Linked DNA regions of Homo sapiens: region 1 is linked to region 2. Evidence: promoter capture Hi-C in 16 types of primary human blood cells and fetal thymus (Javierre and others, 2016). All regions are on one chromosome and are shown on one strand. Each heading gives the region's core, a stretch centred on a gene start or on the middle of the fragment in contact. The rest is flanking DNA. Distances are from core to core; before and after follow the strand shown. Region 1 holds the start of C2orf69 (chromosome 2 open reading frame 69). Region 2 holds the start of CCDC150 (coiled-coil domain containing 150).

Region 1 (6,394 bases), core at 2,257-4,756, 3.3 Mb before region 2:
CCTACAAGTCATCTACTTGGAAGGCTGTTCCAGGCAGTATACAGAAAGCTTTTTAGGTATAGTGTGCCTGACATGTTTGAGCAACACCAAGAAAGCCAGAGAGGCTGGAGAAGAGTAAACAGAAAAAGGAGACCAAGTCAGATAGGTAACAGGGTGGGAAAAGATAGAAATAATGAAAAGCCTTGCAGGACAGGATATTAACAGGAAGGACTCTGGCTCTTACTCTGAGTGACATGGGAAGTGACTGCACAGTTTTGAGCAGACGTGGAATGATTTGACTTACATTTTTCAATGGTTATTCTGATTACTTTAGATACACTGAAAAGGTAAAACCACTAGATTTGATGAAATGAGGTATGAAAGACAGTTCTAATGGATGACTTCAAGATTTCTATCTTGAGCAACTAAGAAGGTAAAGTTTCCATTAATGACATGAGGAAGACTGCATAGGGGTAAAGATCCAGAGATTTTAGGTTTAGGATATCTATTAAATATCCAAAAGGAAATAATCGTGCATATAATTGGTTGGCCTAAAGTTTGGGGAATATGTGTAGGCTAGATACATAAATGTTGAGGGGTGTCAGTGTACAGGTAGTGAGTAAAGCCATGAGACTGAAGGGAGTGAACACAGACAGAGGAAACATGGAAGAACAGACGACTAGGATACTCCAATAATTTTTAAAGTCACCAGAGAGATAAGAAGGGACCAGAACTCATTTAGTATCCACACATTTAATCTCCATTGACACCTTATAAACTATTATTCTTATTTTGTAGTTGAAGTAGCTGAAACACAGAGAGATGTAACAATTGTCCAGGGACTTTATACCTAAAAAGTTCTAAATCAGGGTTCAAACCCAGGCAATCTGGCCTCAAACTGTATGTAAGACTTTTTAGACTTCCTCTGAAGACTTGTACTATATATCCTGGCTGGCACACTTTAAAAACACTTAGGAGGTGCTCAATAAATGTAATCATTATCATCATCATTATTTTAGGAATGCATGCAGTAATTGTTCCACAAAATTATTCTGGCAGTCATAGTCGGAAATGTCACATGTTATTTTCCCAATCTGAGCCACAAGGGCACCAAGTAAGTAAGTGGCTTTTTTTTCTCTTAAATCTAAGTAGTAGTTGTTTTTTTCTTTATTCTCTTTTTTTTTCTCCAGTTTTTATTAGCAGTCAACTAAACCAGTCAATTATTTTGAGGGCAAAAGAAAATAATACATATTATAAAAATATATATATATTTTATATATATTATATAGTATATTTTATATATAGTATAATATATATTTTATATAATATAATATATATTTTATATAATATATATTTTATATAATAGAATATATATTTTATATAATATATATTTTATATAATAGAATATATATTATATATAATATATGTTATTATATATAATATATATCATAATAGAATATATTATATATAATATATATTATAATAGAATATATATTATATATAATATATATTATAATAGAATATATATTATATAATAGAATATATATTCTATAGAATATATTTTATATAATATATATTATATATATTATAATATATATTATATATAATATATTATATATTATATATAATATATATAATTTTATATATAATATATATATAAAATAATATATATTATTTTCTTTTGCCCTCAAAATAACTGGTTTAGTTGACTGCTAATAAAAACTGGAAAAAAAAAGAGAATATCTATATCTATATCTATATATCTATATCTATATCTTAATCATTATCTGACTCAGAGCACAGTTTCTAAGTATGTCATTTTAAGGCACCAATTTTGAAAATAAACTAATGTAGTTTCATAGTATAAGAAACACATGTAGGCCGGGCGCGGTGGCTCACACCTATAATCCCAGCACTTTCAGAGGCCAAGGTGGGCAGATCACTTGAAGTCAGAAGTTCGAGACCAGCCTGTCCAACATGGTGGAACCCCATCTCTACTAAAAATACAAAAATTAGCTCAGTGTGGTAGCGCATGCCTGTAATCCCAGCTACTCGGGAGGCTGAGGCACGAGAATCACTTGAGCCCGGGAGGCGGAGGTTGCAGTGAGTCGAGACTGCGCCACTGCACTCCAGCCTGGGCAACTAAGCAAGACTCCGTCTCAAAAAAACAAAAAAGAGAAACATACCTAGCTATAGTCTAGCTTTACCTGTCTAGAACTTTCTATGATGATGGATTATTTTCTATGATAATGCTATATATCTGTGCTGTCCAATACAGCACACGCAAGCCATCTGTAGCTACTGAGCACTTGAAATGCAGCTAATATGAATAACTGGATTTTTAGTTTTATTTAATTTTAATTAATTCAGATAGCCATATATGGCTAATGGCTACCATATTAGATAATGCAACGTTAGATTAAGACCCAGTTTTCAGGGCAACATAACCACGGATATTTACCTGCAGCTATAAAATAATAAACATAACATGCAAAAGCAAAAGTACAAAAGAGGTGAGCATCAAAACATTGACATGCTTAATAATTATTGTCCCTTTTCTTCCACCCATCCCCACTCTTTTTTAGGGTTACTGGATGTCATACCTTTGTAATGTTTGTTTGGTTTTTAATTACTGCCACCGTTTTCTAAACACTACGTGCTAACTTAATTTGAAAGCCATCGCTCTGTCCCCTGCCCAACACACACACACGGTCCTCTGAGAAACCAAATTATAGAATAAATATACAAGATGCGTGTCACTCCCTGTCTCAAATTCCGCCTCTTGGAAACCTGGACCGACAGCTGGCTCTTTCGAGATCGTAGCCCTCGTCGGACACCTTCCCCATGGGGTTCTATGGACAAAGGGCGCCAAGGGCGTGGAAGGCACGGTTTTGGATTTCGTGGAGTAGAGGAAGAGCCACCCTCAGTGAATGTGTGGGTGTGTTCAGGCAAGGAAAGGAACCAGGCAGCAGCCACGAGGGAAGAATCAGTGACCGCGTACGTATACACGAGAGGAAGGAACAGATACCCAGGCAGGCCCCGAGTTACCTGCACATCCCCAGGGAAATAGAGGACGTGATGCTGGGGCGGCGGCTGCGGCTCCTCCTTCGCTGGGTCCCCGGGGAGGTCCTGCCGCTCCAGTCCCTCCCCGGCCGCCGCCAACAGGAGCAATTCGTTGCTGCGCTGCGGATCGGCTCCAGGCACGGTGGAAAGCTGCAGGCACTGACGGCGGCGCACCTCGGCCGAGAGGGAGCATCGCGCGCCGCCGCTGCCGCCCGGGTTCATGGTTCTGGCCTGAGAGCAGGACGAGGCGTTTCCGATTCCGAGCTGCGGCAGCAGGAGCAGCAACGGCGGCGACCGCAGGAGCCTGAACCCCCACATGGGTCGCCGCCGCGAGAGCGGTTCGGAGGTGGAGGGTGGCGGAGGGGTTCCTGAGGGAGGGACTTCAGCAGGCGGCTCAGCCGGCGGCTCAACGGTCGGCGGCCGCGGCCCGGCCGGGAGCCGGCGCTGAGGCGACGACGTCAGAGGCCGACGTCCGCGCGCAGCGTGCGTAAGGAAAGGAAGGGAGGGGTGTGGGCGAAATCGGTCTTGGGATCCCGGAGAAGACGGTGGGCGTGGCTTGAGGAAGGGCGTTTGTGATTGGTGGGTTCTGCCGCGGCCGGGAAGTTCGAACAGAAGTCTGGGGAAGAGCCGGCGAAGAGCAAAGAGATAATACAGTACTCCCAGCTATAGCAAGCGGCAGTTATGGAGCATGCGCAGCAGCAGGGGCGGCCGCAGGTCGCCGTTCAATAATACGTAATGTATAGACTTTTGAGTATACGAAGCTCCCTGTTTCTCTAGGTTCACCTGAGATTTATCTGGTCTTTCAGGGCTTAAAAGGGAGACATTCCCAAAGAAGATTCCGTGGGAAGTCTCCTACAAGCCCCGAAGGAAGGGAATCTCTCTCCTCATACCTTGAGTTTCCTGAGTACAATTATTATAGATATACGAAGATCTCTGTGCTCATGGAGAATTTGTGGTTAGATATGAAGCTAATTCATCTCTGTTTGGGAACAGGGTACATGATCTAGGACAGGAAAAAAACGGGGCGAGGCAGTACGCTTTACTTGGTGTTTTGCTATTTGGAGGTTTTCAAAAACTAAACAGTGTAGGAAAGTCATGTGTGTCCAGCAACTATCTGTGGCCAGTTGAGTAGGAATAAGATTTGGCGAAATGTATGCTCAGGCCTGTACTCCCAGCACTGTGGGAGGCCGAGGCGGAGGATCACTTGAGTCCAGCAGTTTGAAACCAGCCTGGGCAACATAGGGAGGCCTTGTCTCTACTAAATTTTTTTTTTTAATTAGCCGGGCGTGGTGGTGCATGCCTATAGTCCAAGCTACTGGGAGGGCTGAGATGGGAGATTGGATCGCTTGAGCCCAGGAGTTGTATGCTGCAATGAGTTGTGATCCCACCACTGCACTCCAGCCTGGGCAACAGAAGCAGACCCTGTCTCAAAAAATAAACCAAAAACAAACAAAACAGGGAAATGTGTGCGAGCGAGGATGAGATCCAAGTACTTGTGAGACAAAGCACTGTAAAGAGAATAATTAATGAAAATTACAAAAAACTACAGCCAACATTTGTTGAGGGTTTACTATAGGCCAGAAATCTAAGCACTTTATATATAATTGTTCGGAGTTTATATATGTGTATTTAAGCACACATACTGTTTTCTTTGGTCTACATATGCAAATAATAACAAATGGCTTGGAGTAGGAACATAAATGAGCAAATGATAAAATATGATTTATATATATGTATAGACTTGGTGACTTAGTATGCTAACCTACTCTGGTCTAAATTGTTGCATTCCATCTGACATCAAAATATTGTTATCAATCAAAAATTATTCAATTAATTACTAAGGAAATCTGCCGCTTTCTAAAATAACTGGTTAAAAACAAGTAGAGGTTAGTTATACAATAATTAGTATATAATGACATTTAGGCAACCTGACGTCACTCTGTTTTGCCAATTGCAAACATGTTACTTTCCATTGTTAGATAGAGGATTGCTGAAATGTTATCTAAAAGTCCAAACATGTACATGAATTGCAAATGCAGCTTTTGATTTGTGGTCTTGTTTTTAGCTTGACCTTATAATGAAATCTATTTTTATTTTTAAGTTTATTTTTTTAAGACAAGATCTTGCTTTGTCACCCAGGCTGGAGTGCAGTGGCACAATCTCGGCTCACTGCAATCTCTGCCCCCCAGATTCAAGCGATTCACTTGCCTCAGCCTCCCTAGTAGCTGAGATCACAGGCATGTGCCACCACGCCCGGCTAATTTTTGTATTTTTTTAATAGAGACAGGGTTTCTCCATGTTGACCATGCTGGTTGCGAACTCCTTACTTCAGGTGATCTACCCGCCTCGGCCTCCCAAAGTGCTGGGATTACAGGCAGGAGCCACCATGCCCTGCCTTAATGAAATCTATTCTTATTGAAGAGAGTGGAGAATGTGTTTTATAAGGAAAATTGTAGCAAATATTAAATGCCACAAAGTTGTCTCAGTATCGCTAAGATAATTAAGGTCTTTGAGAAATACAAGTAAGAATTTAAAGAGTAGAGTAAAGAAACAGACTAAAGTAAGCACAAATGTTTCCTTACAGTCAAGGGATTTGTACAGCCCTGTAGGAGACACCTCCAGAGAAAGTAACAGCTCTCAATTGATTAGCTGAGGTATGTATGTCATTTATGGCAAGTCATTGCCGTTGCAATTCCTTCTCACAGGTCCCCTTGATATTACTGTAATACCTGTTTTCTGTCTCCATCCCCTCTGTCTTCTAGGAGACCGATTTTGTAAATCACTACTTTTCTAACAACACTGGCACAGATGGCCAAGCATTCTCCCTTTTCTCAGAGCTGGTTTTCCATCCCGGAAAGAGGTCTTACATATACAAAGTTACTCTAATCAGTTGTGTGAGTTTTCTCTTCTCTAACTGATAGGGTTCTGCACAGGGATTATATTAATGCTTATAGTGTCCAAAAGGCTATAGCTCACCTCTGGACTCTTGAGAGTTCTCAAGGGATCCTGCTGAGCTCTCAGACCTTTTTAATGCTATTCAATATAATAGAAAAGTTGCAAAATTGGAAGGAATCTGAGAAAGGCTAATTTACAATGGAAAGGACAGCATTAAAAGGCACAAACTCCAATATCTACAGGGGCCAGGTCTATATTATAAATAGTAAAATTGGCCACAAATAAACAATAGGGAATGTAAACACTGGCAAACTAGAGAGATGTCATATTTGAAGAAGGCAGTCACTATTCACTGCTAGCCAGTTGTAAAATGAAGGCAACATTTTGCCAAACCTTCAAACTTGTTAAGAGATTTCTCGACACAAATCAGATACAGATTTTTATGTTTCATTTGCCA
Region 2 (6,221 bases), core at 2,262-4,761:
GTGACTCGGACACTGATTGATGGTTGGCAGGGCACAAAGCTTTTGAGTGAAATACATGGTGTTGTCCTTAAAATATCCTCTTAGTCAATCGCTGAGAATCCTGTTCAGGTCATCAAAGTTGCTGAAACAAAAATTAAATAAGCCAATCTAGCCTTTGGGGATTTACTAAAAACAGATCTCATGGCCAGGCACAGTGGCTCATGCCTGTAGTCCCAGCATTTTTGAAAGGCCTATGTGGGAGGATCACTTGAGGCCAGGAGTTCCAGACCAGCCTGGCCCACATGGCAGGACCCTATTCTCTTCCAAAAATTTTTAAAAATGAGCTGGGCATGGTGGCCTGTGCCTGTAGCCCTAGCTACTTGGGAGGCTGACGCAGGAGGATCACTTGAGCCCAGGAGGTAGAGGCTGCAGTGAGCTATGATTGTGCCACTGCACCCCAGCCTGGGTGACAAAGCAAGACCTTGTCTCTAAAAAAAAATAAAAAATGAAAACAAGTCTCAGGGTTAGTTAAAAACCTTCCCTCCCAACCACCACCTCCACTTCCCGCCATGGGAAAACAAAAACAAAAACCAAACAATGCCAAGGTCAGGAGAGTCCTTGGAAGCAAGGGAGGGGGCGGTAATGGCTGAGTAGCAAGAGGACAGCCTTAAAGCCACCAGGCAGAGTCCCCGAGTATCTGGGAGGCTGTTAAAGTATGAGATAAGAACTTTCAATCCAGTAAATTAATCTACCAAGTTGGGGCTTAAAGTTAGAGAGAGATTCTCATTTTCACTGCAGTTGCTCATACCCTTGCCTGTCCTCCCCATCTGGTAGGCCCAAAGCAGTGGTAGCAGAAATGCCACCCACACCCCTACATACATAAATACACGCACACTCTCCAATGGCCACTTGGCAGATCCTCATAAGTCATAGTTCTATGGCTCATAGTCTAAGAAGCACAGTCTTACATGAAAACAATCTACCTCTAATGGCTGACATTCTAGCAAAGAGACAACAGCTTTAACATATCTGTGCTTTGTTGTGTTTGAAAAGGAGCAAATATTGATTGCTGCCTTGAACCTAAGTCCTAACGCTTGATAGTAACAATAATAAAAATACTGAGATATAAACTTTTATTTTTAAAAAAGTTCATTCATAACTAATTTCTATGCATATATTATTATCAAACTAACAGAATTCTGTCTTGATGTTTAGGGAGAATATTTCCAAAGAGCTTCTAGGCAGGTAACCTTATGGAAAGCATGGCAAGAAAAAGACCAATGTCACAAGTAATATACTAGTAAAAACCAGATGACTTTGAAAAGAGAACACATGCTTCTGTGGACACAGGCTCCATTCCTACACCTGGCAATAGGTGTACACTGGCAAAAGCGTATACAAGTACATGCTGTTGGTTCCAAAATAACAGTCCAGGGAGTCAATGTTGTTTATCACAACCACTAGAAAATAATATGGTAACACTGTCTTCATTCACTCACACATCTAACAAATATTTCCTGAACATTTACCATGAGCCACACACTGTTATAGGCAATGAGGCGGGGGGCAGGGGTTGGGTAGAACAGTACGAACAAAACTCCCTGCCTTCGTGGAGCTTATATTCCAGCTGAAGAAGACAGACACTAAGTAAAATACATAGTTTGTTTATTGGTGATAAGTGCAAAGGAGGAAAATGAAATAGGAAAGAACATGGTATGGAGGCTACAGGGCAGATTTTCATTTTAAACAGGGTGGTCAAAGAAGGCCTCATAACATTTGAGCAAAGACCTGTTATATAGATATCAGAGGGCAGAAAGGCCCAGAAGACGGAAACAGCAAGTGCAAAGGCCTGAAGTTAGAAGGTCTGATGAGTCCGCACATAATAAAGAGGTGGGTTTGGCTGGAGAGGAAGGAGTAACACAGAGAACATTGAGAGATGAGGTCAGACGGTAATAATAAAACCAGAATACGGCTGGGCGCGGTGGCTCACGCCTGTAATCCCAGCACTTTGGAAGGCCGAGGCGGGCAGATCAAGAGGTCAGGAGATCGAGACCATCCTGGCTAACACGGCGAAACCCCGTCTCACTAAAAATACAAAAATAAAAATAAAAAAAAAATTAGCCGGGCGTGGTGGCGTGCTCCTGTAGTTTCAGCTACTCGGATGGCTGAGGCAGGAGAATGGTGTGAACCCAGGAGGCGGAGCTTGCAGTGAGCTGAGACTGCTGCACTCCAGCCTGGGCGACAGAGCGAGACTCCGTTTCAAAAAAACAAAAAACAGAATACACAGAGCCTTGAAGGCCATTGTAGAAGTCTGGCTTTTGCTGTCAGTGATTCTCAGAGTCACTGGAGGTCTATAGCTGAGGAATGCTATCCAACTTTCCTTTTAACTGGATCATTTTGACTCCCTCCCACTCCAAATGGTGGAAGAACAAAAGCAGAAGTAGAGATGCTGCTGGCCAGAACCAAGGTGACAGCAGCGGTATTCCTACTGTAAGAAGTGGTTAGTGGTTAGATATACTTGAAAGATAGCTTTTGCTGATGCATTAGATATGAGATATGAGGGAAAGGAAGAAGCCAAGATTACTACAGGGTTTTTGGCCTGGATGGTGCTATCACTGAGACAATGCAAACTTATTAAGGAAGAATCCGTTTTGTGGAAAAGATAAAGAGTAGTTTTTAAAATGTCAAATTTAAAACATGAAAGATACCAAATACATTATTGAATTTGTGGATCTGAAGTTTGGGGGTGAGGTGTGGACTGGAGACTAATTTCTGAAGAGCTCAAGAAAACCATAAGGCGGGATAACAGAGAACACAAAGGATTAAAGGACCTAGTCCTGAGCACGCCAAGATTAACAAATTAGAAGCATGTGTTGGGGGGCATTTAAGACGGACTAATACGAACTTCTCTAAAGTGGGGTTAAAAATAGACATTTTTCTATCTTTAGAGCCTAATACAGTGCCTGGGAAATTATAGGTGGTAAATAAACAGGAGAATACTTCGACAGGAATTTAACGAATGTCTATTCCGTTCTAGCAAGAGCGCCAGGTACTGCGGAAACCGTAAAGAACAAGTGCAAATTCCTGACACCTATATTCTGGTAAGCAAGCCAGGGAGGATTAACTGGTGGCAAAAATCAAACATTAACGCCGAAATAGCCTTCCCAGGAACCTATTAAACTCCAACTTAACACATAAATAAAGGTGGTATTGGGCTTATCTGGAGGCTTCGGTGGCTATCTCCCATCCCTCAGCTGGAGCCAGGCCAATGCAAACTTCGCTCCTAAATGGCTTTCACCGGCAGCCAACGCCAAAGCGCCTTAAATCAGGGCCCTGAGGTCCAGGGAGTGAGACTGGACTCCGTCAGGACAGGGAGAGGGCGCCAGGGAGTGGTGACTGTCCTTATCTGAGCCGAAGCCTCGCGAGCCTCCGACCACCCCTCACCAGCCCGGGGCCCGGCAGCCTCACCTTACAGTCCATCTGTCCGCCTGAGGCTCCGTACTGCAGCAGGCGAGCGGGTTTCCGTGGAACTAACACAGCATTTTAAACCAACCCGCTCCCCGGCGCAGTAGCTCCGGTACGCAGGCGCACCCGTGGCAGGGCATGTCGGGAACTGTAGTTTTCCCGGCCCAGGAGGGCCCTCAGCCCTGGGCGGGACCCAGGCCGGCATCCGGCGGCGCTCAGGGAATGCGTAGCGCCGTGAACCGAATGGCGGCAGGCTCCACTGTGCTCGCGAGCGGGGCACGCCGGGATATGTAGTTTCCGGCGCCTGCCCTCCGGGGGGTCCTGTGCTGCCCACTTCACAGTGACTTGTCTCCGCCTGGTGAACTCGCGGTGTTCTGCTAATCTTGGTAAATACATACCCTACAGCAGAGTAACGAGCATAAAAATTGGTTAAAAATTCAGAGCTTAAACATTCTTCTCGTTAAAGGAAAAATCAAGTCCCTCTTCGTCCTCGTCCATGATGGCCACATGGAGAGTAAAACACAGAAATCTGTTTTCAGGTCTTTCGTCTCTTCAGCATAAATTATTTCTTGCCCTGTCTACAAGTTAATAGGTATTTGTAAATCTGAGTGTAAGTAGCTATGAAACGGAAAAGAGCATTGAGCTGTCCCTGGTTTTTTTGGTGGTTTGCTTTTTTGAGATAGGGTCTTCCTCTGTCGCCAAGGGTGGATTACGGTGGTGCGATCTCGACTCACTGCAGCCTCGACCTCCCGAGCTCAAGCGATCCTCCCATCTCAGCCTCCCCAGTATCTGGGACCACAGGCGCGCGCCACCACGTCTGGCTAATTTTTGTATTTTTTCGTGGAGGCGGGGTCATCACCATATTGCTCAGGCTGGTCTCTTTGGGCTCGAGCCATCCGCCCACCTCGGCCTCCCAAAGTCCTGGGATTACAGGCGTGCATCACCACACCAGCGTTTCTGAGTTGTTTTGCTTTAAGAATATGTATTCTCACTTAAGGGAAAGCCTTCTATAGTGCAAAGACGCGGCTTTGCGTTTTGGTAGCTGGACAGAACACCTGTTATCCCTGCCAGGGCAATTAAAATGCATTTCTCTCTTCTCCCTGAGAGTGCAGCCAAGAATCACTTCAGCCCTCTCATATAAGCAATCAGATCCGAGATGAGAGCTCATTTACTTAGCCTGACAATTGATCTTGCTATTCTAATTCTTTTCATAGCGGAGCCTCAATGTGAGATGCAGAGACTGCCCATCAAACCACAGCCATATTCATCAAGCTTTGAGCCGATCCGGTGAAGAGAAATGAGCACTGCATACATTATTCAGAGAAAGGGACCAAATAAAGCTTTTAATAGGAAATGAAAATGTATTTTAAAGCGTCAGTGCAAACAGCCAATTATTTTCATTATGTATGTTTTATCTTGCAATGACCTCTGGTTTATCAGTGGAATTAAGAGATGAGTGATACATGTATCCACGTGTTTTTGTGTAATGAGAGTTTTCACCTTCTCCTCAAATCTCCATATTAAGCAGCAGTCAGGGAACCAAACTGATTAAATTCGTGTTTTTCATTTGTTTTCCCTTATTCACTGTCTGGCAAACCGTATAAGAACTTAAGCAATTACAGAGTTAGAGAAAAGGACCTGAAGTCTTCAATAAACTTGAAATCAGGGAGTATAGTCCTCCAACTTTGTCCTTTTTCAAATTTGTTTTGGCTGTTCCTTTAACTTTCTAGTTCCTTTACCTTTCTCCCAAATTTTTTGAATCAACTTGTTGATACCTACAAAAATTCTGCCAGGATTTTGATTGAAATAATGCCAAACATACCGATTTTCTTGCTGATTTCCCTCTTGATTTTCAGTTGATAAATAGTTCTCAGACATTACCCCATTTATCAAACAAGATCATTTCATTCACGGAAATCCTAGATATTCCATGAAGACCACATTCTGTTTCACTGCGATAACCTCCTAACTGGTTTTCCTATTACCCCTTCCAAAGTATCCTTCATATGGCTACCAGATCTTTTAAAAAAGTAAATCTGATTATCTCAGGTCTTTGCTTAAAAACATTTAATCGTTCCCCCATTGAACGAAAAGTTTTCCATTGAGCAGGATGAAGACCAAACTGGTAATAGCTTCAGCCAAACCCTCCAGCCTACTCTGCACCTAGTGCCCCAGTGGAACTCTGAAGTCAAGCCTGCTACCATAGAATGTCTTTGTGCTTGCAGGTTATGCTCACTCTGCTGCGCACGGCCTTCCTCTTGTCAGTCTCACCAGCTCAACAGAAACTTAGCCTCTTCTGTGAAGCCATTCTATTCTCTCCCAAAGCACTTCATAATTGTCAATGTATCTTATTTCCCCTTATTTGAGCTGTAAGCTACTTAAGGACAGGAATTTGTTTTTTTCTTTTCAACACCAAGTACAATGCCCGGCACACAGTAGGGGTTTGGAAAGTTTTTGTTAGGTGAGTGAATGAATAAATTTTGAAACGGCTCTACTAATAGAGGCTGTGTTTCACTCTCTACTTGTAAGCCAGGAAAAGGCCTCCAAATAGAATATACGCTGCAGATGATTTGACATTGTAGTTACACGAATGGCAGTAAAGTTCCCTGCAACTACTTCCCCTTGGAGTTGGAAATGTATTCCGTGGACAAAGAAATGCAAACAGAACACCCAAAGTTTTCATATCTTGTTGGTAAAATAAAAGAATAAAAATGGCAAATTCACTAACTGGCTCCTCACCTTATGTGGGCAATCCAGATATTTTGGTAAAGTATTGG

The links. Contacts are between HindIII fragments. The CHiCAGO score rates a contact against its expected background, and 5 or more counts as called.
Region 1: the fragment with the promoter of C2orf69 here is called in contact with the fragment with the promoter of CCDC150 in region 2 in 1 of 17 cell types (non-activated CD4 T cells); the score reaches 6.9 in non-activated CD4 T cells.

Annotation. Positions count from the first base shown.
Region 1 is chr2:199,908,405-199,914,798 of GRCh38, reverse strand. C2orf69 (chromosome 2 open reading frame 69) reads right to left here and starts at 3,506. Exons shown (of 2, transcript NM_153689.6): 1 at 3,028-3,506. The coding sequence starts at 3,360. LOC101927687 (a long non-coding RNA gene) reads left to right here and starts at 3,653. Exons shown (of 4, transcript XR_923766.4): 1 at 3,653-3,774; 2 at 5,627-5,696. RefSeq lists an enhancer at 3,185-3,374. The HindIII fragment of the contact is 7,031 bases long and covers 51-6,394 here.
Region 2 is chr2:196,637,005-196,643,225 of GRCh38, reverse strand. CCDC150 (coiled-coil domain containing 150) reads right to left here and starts at 3,511. Exons shown (of 28, transcript NM_001080539.2): 1 at 3,448-3,511. The coding sequence starts at 3,459. It overlaps LOC105373823 (a long non-coding RNA gene), which reads left to right and starts at 3,541. Exons shown (of 2, transcript XR_923747.3): 1 at 3,541-3,830; 2 at 4,659-4,798. RefSeq lists enhancers at 2,650-3,187, 3,188-3,725, 3,710-3,759, 3,780-3,999. The HindIII fragment of the contact is 4,677 bases long and covers 42-4,718 here.